Regions from separate parts of the Homo sapiens genome. Here region 1 is linked to region 2. Evidence: promoter capture Hi-C in human tissues and cell types (Jung and others, 2019). All regions are on one chromosome and are shown on one strand. The core of a region is centred on a gene start or on the middle of the fragment in contact, and the rest is flanking DNA. Distances in the headings are between cores, read along the strand shown.

The links. Contacts are between HindIII fragments. The study calls those that stand out against the background at their distance.
Region 1: a contact is called between a fragment that was not itself captured here and the fragment with the promoter of CHST12 in region 2, in 1 of the 25 tissues and cell types used here (spleen).

The regions. Positions count from the first base shown.
Region 1 is chr7:2,612,693-2,616,401 of GRCh38, forward strand. IQCE (IQ motif containing E) reads left to right here. Exons shown (of 22, transcript NM_152558.5): 22 at 1-2,036. LOC107986760 (a long non-coding RNA gene) reads right to left here. Exons shown (of 3, transcript XR_001745069.2): 3 at 1,891-2,284. Among named protein-coding and RNA genes, the nearest start is that of TTYH3, 17 kb to the right of the region's middle. The HindIII fragment of the contact is 7,391 bases long and covers 1-3,709 here.
Region 2 is chr7:2,402,316-2,406,071 of GRCh38, forward strand. It overlaps CHST12 (carbohydrate sulfotransferase 12), which reads left to right and starts at 1,296. Exons shown (of 2, transcript NM_018641.5): 1 at 1,296-1,358. RefSeq lists enhancers at 773-872, 3,693-3,756 and silencers at 963-1,332, 1,423-1,592. The HindIII fragment of the contact is 33,157 bases long and covers 1-3,756 here.

The DNA.
Region 1 (3,709 bases), core at 160-2,659, 210 kb after region 2:
TGGGCGGGGCCTAGTCACGGGAGAGGTGAGCTGTGGGCGGGGCCTAGTCATGGGAGGGGTGAGCTGTGGATGGGGCCTAGCCATGGGAGGGGTGAGCTGTGAGTGGGGCTGAGCCATGGGAGCAGCAAGCTGGTGGAGTGGGCTGGGCGGAGCTGTGGGGGCTGCTGGCAGGGCCTAGGAAAGTAGACAACTCCCGGGGGAGACGAAGTAGAGAGTGAGTCCCCAAGAAAGGGACTCCTGCCCCAGCGTCAAGTGCCAAAGCAGGCCCCATCTACCACTTCAGGGTCGACGTTGGTGGCAGGTGTTGTTCACGGTGTACTGATTGTCACTGCAACACCTCCACATCACCTTGAACTTCAAGAACAGCAGCAAAGCTGTATCTGCTATCAGAGGCTGTTAGGTAGTCCAGCTTTAAAATAACACACTCTTTCTCTATCCCATGCCCTTTAAACAAGCAGCCACAGGAGATGTCAGTCTCCAGGGCCTGGCCCCACTGTGTTGACAGCAGTCACGTCTGTTGAGCTGACACTGCTGAGGCTGAAGCTGGCCCCGTGCAGGTGGCTGGTGAGCCACAGGTGCAGTACCCGGAGGTGTGCTCTCCCCTAGAGGCCTGTCCCCAACTCCTCCCCTAGAGGCCTATTCCCGCTGCTCACAGACCTCAGCAGAGGCACCAGCTGGAGGGCTCCAGGGACATCCTTGGAGATACAGGAGGCTTTCCTGGCACAGGGCACAGCTCTTAGGAGGCCTTTGTAGGACGCTGTCTCCCCAGCGTGTCCTGCTCATCCAGGATGGGGAGAAAGAGGAGGAGGCCCCAGGCTCAGAAGCCAGGGACAGACTGCCGACGATTACCAAACTGAATCCAGGCAGTGCCATGACCCTGGGTGTCCCTTGGTTCACATCACCCACCAGACAGCTGCGGAGAGAGTGCAGGGAGGGGCTGGGACCAAACAGGCCAGAAACCAGCAGAAAAGAGGCAGAAGTGAGGTGGGTGTGCCTGGGGCACGAAGCCAGCGCCGGGGGGATTTCAGTGGAGCCTTACAGCCAGGCTCCGTGCGGACTGTGATGCCAGAGAGGCGTGCAGCCTCTGGGCAAGTCGGGAGAGGGCTTGGGTGGTCCCCACAAGGCAGAAGAGGTGGAAGGGCCAGAGAAGACCACCAAGACCACCGTTCCCGCAGGCCTGGGGTGAGTGACCTGACTGAGACTAGCGGGCAGAGCCAAGCAGGGCTAAACTCCAACCCAGGGCCCGGTGTTGGACAAAGTAGCTTTTTCTTTGCTCGTTTGTCTGTGTATTAAGAAGAGACTAAAATAGCCAAACGACGCTGGTCGCATGCGCTGGCTGTGGTCTGTCTGCTGAATGTCTATTTTTGTCTCCTGACGAGACGTGAGGACCATGCCCTTGATCCCTCCGATGGACCAGAAACCCCCTTCCTTGCAAAAAAAAGGCAATTGAATTAGGAAAAGATAGCCCAACCTAGCTCAGATCCACCAAGATAAGCACAGCAAAGCTTGGCTGCATTTTTGAGGAATAAAAACCTGCAGAAAGCACCGATAACCTTCAAGATCTGAATGAGATTCTATTATAACCCGTCTAAACGATTGCAAAATTCCTCCTTTGGTTTTGGAAGCAGCGTTTGCTCTCCCGTGGCTCGGATTCTCTGAGGACCAGGGAGTTGACACACAAACCCCGCCATGGGTCCGAGCCAGCTATTTCTCAAGGCTCCCACCTCGCCAAGCTCCCAAGGGCCTGCTGGCAGTGCCTACGCTGTGCCAACTACCCTGTCTGGTACAGACCACGGCTGGGTAAGCACCCTTAAAAGCAACAGAAATGACGTCTGGAAGCTGAAATGTGAAACTGTCAAGATGGCTTAGGAGAGGAAGGAGTGGACCCGCTGGTCTTTGGCATTTTGTATTTAGAATTATTCTAACTTTATACATAATGTATAGGCCGATCTTTTGGAAGGGATAAGGTTTTCATTCTTGTGCAACTCATTATTCTCATTATTGGCCTTTTAAATAAAAAGTTGTTTTGCAGTGTGCCTTGAGTGCCCCGTGAAGACTTCTCTTTAATGACCTCCAGGTGTGTTCCTGCCCCACGCACTCGGGCTGAACAAACGATCCGCTTCAGAAACCCCGCTTCTCTGGGCTTCTGGCATTTTGCCGTGGTCGTAATGCAGGCTTGGGGTTGGAGAGCCAGCTGGAGGGACGGGTCCCGCCGCCAGCTCCCTGCCACGCATGAACTCGGATACATCTGTTGACACCCCGGTCCCCCGTCGAATATCTATTCCTTAGATATGAGGACACAAAAATGTGCGTGCGTGAGGGAGTTATTTCTCCATATTTGATTTCATTTTTGTTTCAGGAGCAGGGAAAGAATAATTTACTGAGGAATCAAACACAGATGGAAACGACCAAAAGGAGCTGATATCTGGGTTTTGTTTTCCAATATTTTGTTGCATAGAACAAGGAGCATCTGTGGCTTTGTGTGCTTGTGGCTGCCTGCCCTGGGGCCCTAAATCCTGAGTGGAGTTTGTCCGAAGCCTCCACAGTTACTGTGGTTGGCTCTGGCATTTGCCCAAGCCTATTTTCTCTCTATCGATCTTATATGTGTGTGTGTGTGTGTGTGTGTGTGTGTGTGAAAATATATGTATATTTTTAAATTGAGATAGGGTCTTGCTGTCTTGCCCTGGCCGGAGTGCAGTGGTGCAGTCATAGCTCACTGCAGCCTCAAACTCTTGGGCTTAAGCAATCCTCTTGCCTCAGCCTCCCAGATAGCTGGGACTATAGGTGTGCACCACTGTGCCCAACCACTTTTTAAAAAATTTCTGTCACGCCTGTAATCCCAGCACTTTGGGAGGCCAAGGCAGGCGGATCACGAGGTCAGGAGTTCAAGACCAGCCTGGCCAATATGGTGACACCCCATCTCTACTAAAAATACAAAAATTAGCCGGGCATGGTGGCGTGCGTCTGTAGTCCCAGCTACTCGGGAGGCTGAGGCAGAATTGCTTGAACCTGGGAGGTGGAGGTTGTAGTGAGCCGAGATGGCGCCATTACACTCCAGCCTGGGCGACAGAGCGAGACTCTGTCTCAAAAAAATAAAAATAAAAATTCTGTAGAGATGAGGACTTGCTAAGTTGCCCAGGCTAGTCGAACTACTAGGCCCAAGTGATCCTCCCACCTCAGCCTCCCAAGTGGCTGAAACTACAGGTACGCACCTGGCTAATATACAAAATTTGAGGGGTGGGGCACAGTGGTTCGTGCCCGTAATCCCAGCACTTTAGGAGGCTGAGGCAGTGAATCACCTGAGGTCAGGAGTTCGAGGCCAGCCTGGCCAACATGGTGAAACCCCGTCTCTACTAAAAATACAAAAAGTAGCCGGGCGTGATGGCACATGCCAGTAATCCCAGCTACTCAGGAGGCTGAGGCAGGAGAATCACTTGAACCCGGGAGGTGGAGGTTGCAGCGAGCCATTGCACTCCAGCCTGGGCAAGAAGAGCAAAACTCCGTCTAAATAAATAAATAAAATTTTATTTTGGTGGAGGTTGCAGTGAGCCATTGCACTCCAGCCTGGGCAAGAAGAGCAAAACTCCATCTCAATAAATAAATAAATAAATAAATAAAATATATTTTTCTGGTAGAGATGGGGCCTTGCTATGTTGCCCAGGCTGGTGTCCAATGCCTCGCCTCAAGCGATCCTCCCACCTTGGCCTCC
Region 2 (3,756 bases), core at 46-2,545:
GATCACGAGGTCAGGAGTTCGAGACCATCCTGGCTAACACGGTGAAACCCCGTCTCTACTAAAAATACAAAAAATTAGCCGGGCGTGGTGGCGGGCGCCTGTAAGTCCCAGCTACCCGGGAGGCTGAGGCAGGAGAATGGCGTGAACCCGGGAGGCGGAGCTTGCAGTGAGCCGAGATCGGGCCACTGTATTCCAGCCTGGGCGACAGAGCGAGACTCTGTCTCAACAACAACAACAACGACAACAACAACAACAACAACAACAACAAAGGTTAAGATGGTAAATTTTATGTTCTATATATTTTACCATAATTTAAAAAAAAAATGACTGGGCCTGGCGCGGTGGCTCACGCCTGTAATCCCAGAGCTCTGGGAGGCTGAGGCAGGAGGATTGCTTGAGTCTAGGGGTTCAAGACCACCCTGGGCAACATAGTGAGACCCCCGTTTCTATTAAAAATTAAAAATTAGCCGGGTGTGGTGGCACCTGTCTGTAGTTCCATCTACTTGGGAGGCTGAGGTGGGAGGATGGCTTGAACCCAGGAGGTCGAGGCTGCAGTGAGCTGTGACTGCACCGCTGCACCCCATCCTGGACGACACGGTGAGATCCTGTCTCTAAAAAAATAAACAAACAAACACACAAAACTACATTGATGCCAAGAACAATTACTGCATGCTCACTATGCATTAGGCATCTTGCTAAGCTCTTTACCCGTGTCATCTCGTTTGTCTCACATACTCCCTGAAAGGTAGGGTCACTAACCTATTATATTTTACGGATTGGCGACAACCTCAGAGAGGTTAAGTCACTTGCCCAAGGTCACACAGCGAGTCTCAAGCCCCAGCCGGTGAGCATCACGATCCTTTGCCAATGAGCCGATGCTCGAGAAAGGGTCGGATAGACAACAGGCACTGCATAAAGGTTGGTTAACGGGATCGTGTTTGGCTGCAACGTGGAGCTCCCGGGTCGAACGGCGAGACAGCTGCGCGTCCCCGAGCCGCCGCGCGCCCGGTCCGCCGGGGCGGAGTCAACGCCGCGGATTGGCTGCTGAGAAAGGGGCGTGGCTCGTGGCGGCCGGTGGGCGGAGTCGATCTCTGGCCGTAAATACGGCGCCACATGGCACTGGCTCGCGAGGGCGGGGGCGGGCGGGCTGGCCGGGCGCAGGCGCGCTGAGGGCGGGCGCCCCTCGGCCTCCGTGGCCCCTCCGGCGGCCGCGACGTCTCGCGAGAAGACGACCGGTAGGAGGGGCTCCTGCGCCGGGGGCGGGGCCGGCGAGGGCTGCCTCTGGGGGGTCCGCTAGTCGCGGGGCGGCGGCGGCGGCTGCGGGCGCGAGGTGAGGGGCGCGAGGTGAGGGTCGCGAGGTGAGGGGCGCGGCGGGCGGCGGGCTCGGGGCGCGGTCTCCCTCTCTCTCGGCCAGTGCTGGGCTCCCAGGGCCCGGGCGGGGGTCCCGGGCCGCGCTGAGGGGCGCGGGTCGGCTCTCCTTAACCTGGCCTGGCGGGCGCGGCTTGGGCCTGGGTTCGAGTTCCCGCGCCGGCGCGCAGTGTGACCTTGGCCCTGCGCGCGCCCTCTCTGAGCCCCGCTCGTCGTCCTCGGCCAGGGGGACCCAGCCCTGGGGCCCTGATCAGCGCGTTCTGCGGCTCCTCGGGGTCTGGACGAGAAATCTGTGGTTCTGATTCAGCGACAGCAGAGGCTGCAGCGGCCCCGCCGGCCCCCAGGAGTCCCCCTGCCCGGCATCAGCCTCTGCCGCCCGGCAGGGGTAGGACCAATTCCCGGGCTTGGAGTTCCAGGATCCCCAGCTCCCGAGGGCCCCCGTGTGCCTGCTGTCACCTGAACGGGGCTCCCCGGCCCCGCCGACCGCAGCCCTGGAGCCTGCAGACGCCAGCAGCACCGGCAGGTCGCTCAGGGTATCCCTTAAATGACCTCTCACTCCAGAAGCCGCAGCCCTGCCCCTCTGGGAGAGGAAACCGTGCATTTAGTCCGGGAACAGTGGGACTTAGACCTCCTCTGCGGGCTCCCGGCCACCGAGACACCGCCGGCAAAGCCTTGGCTCGGGCAGAGGCTCCGTCTGGCAGGCAGCACAACAAGCCATAGTGTTTCCAGCATTATTAAATTATTTAGTTCATAAGCGGGGCTGTGGGGACTCGGAAGCCCCGGGGTGAATAGGAATGTGAGTTGCAGGCGCGGTGCTGGACGCAGTACATCTTCCAGGACACCAGGCCCTACGGTGCTGTTCCCGGCTGTGGGTGGTTGGGGACAGCTCAGCGGGTCCCCCACTTACCCCCACGCGGGGACCCGGGTTAGCCCCTCACCGTGAGCATCTGGTGTTGGGAGTCAGGGCTGGTGTCTGAGTGAGGATGGAGAGAAAACAGGGGTAATGAGGAGATTGCTACACGAAGGTGCAACGCTTGAGATCTGAAAGAGCACCTGCCTGGAATGGCATAGATGTTTGATTTCCCTGCAAAGGAGTTTATGGGACTTTGGGCTGACGCTTTGGGGCCAGCAGTAACTGTCTGCTGTCACTCAGCTGACTCCAGCTTTATTATCAAACCTCCAATCGAGTGCAAGATGCTAAGCTGGGGTAGATGCCGGTAATAGCGTGGGCCTTGCCCTGGGAGCTCACGGCCAGCCTGGCTACAACTGTGTGGAGTTGAGACTGTGGTGCAGGCGTTAACAGAATGTGGCGACATTTTCCGACATTTTCCACAGTGGAGAGGACCTATGAATTGGGGCGTTTGGAGGCAAAGGGCATGCAGAGATGTGGAAGTGAAAGTGATGTTTGGGGGAGATGGTGGGTCGCCGTGTTCTTGATGAAGTGGGGTTTGAGGATTGGGTTGGAAGCTAAGACTGGAAGGCCGGGCGAGGTGGCTCGTGACTGTAATCCCAGCACTTTGGGAGGCAGAGGCGGGCGGATCACCTGAGGTCAGGAGTCCGAGACCAGCCTGGCCAACATGGTGAAACCCCATCTCTACTAAAAATACAAAATTTAGCTGGGCGTGGTGGTGCACACCTGAAGTCCCAGCTACTTAGGAGGATGAGTCAAGAGAATAGCTTGAACCTGGAGGCGGAAGTTGCAGTGAGCCGACACTGGGCCTCTGCACTCCAGCCTGGGCAACAGAGTAAAAAAAAGACTGGAAAGATGGGTTTCTGATTGTGCAGGGGCCTGAATGCTGTGTGAGGGAGTTTAAACTTTTATCCCTTTGGTGGTGGTTTGGGTGCGACGCGATTAGATGTGTTTCAGAAAAGTGGTCGTGGTGAGAATATGGGAGGTGGGTTTTGCCTCTGGGCAGTGGAGCTGAGTTGAGTAGCCTTGTGGGGCGTGGGTCTGGGGCAGTGAGAGAGTGGGGGCGGGCATGGAGCTGAAAGATGTTGCCAAATCCACTGGGCGGTGGCGCTTTGTGAGATGTGGCGACCTGTAACAGCGAGGGCAGCCGGGACTTCTCACCTGCGATGAGGAGCGCTGCGGCCAGGTGGGAGAGGAAGGGCCACACAAACACACGTGGGTTTTAGACCTGCAGAGTTGGCGGTATTGGTGGCCATCCTGGAGGAGATGTGACCTGGTGGAGAAGAGACAGCCTGTACAAGGAGGGAATCCCCAGGAACCCCAGTGGGAAGGGATCCAGAGCTGAAGAGAGGCCCGTTGGTTGGCTGACCTTGGGCGTGCAGTTCCTTGACTACGCACAGTCATTGAGGCTGGCAGGTGATTCTCTTCTAGTGTGGGTCAGGGGCTGAAGGAGCCATCAGTGGGAAAAGACGGGTTAT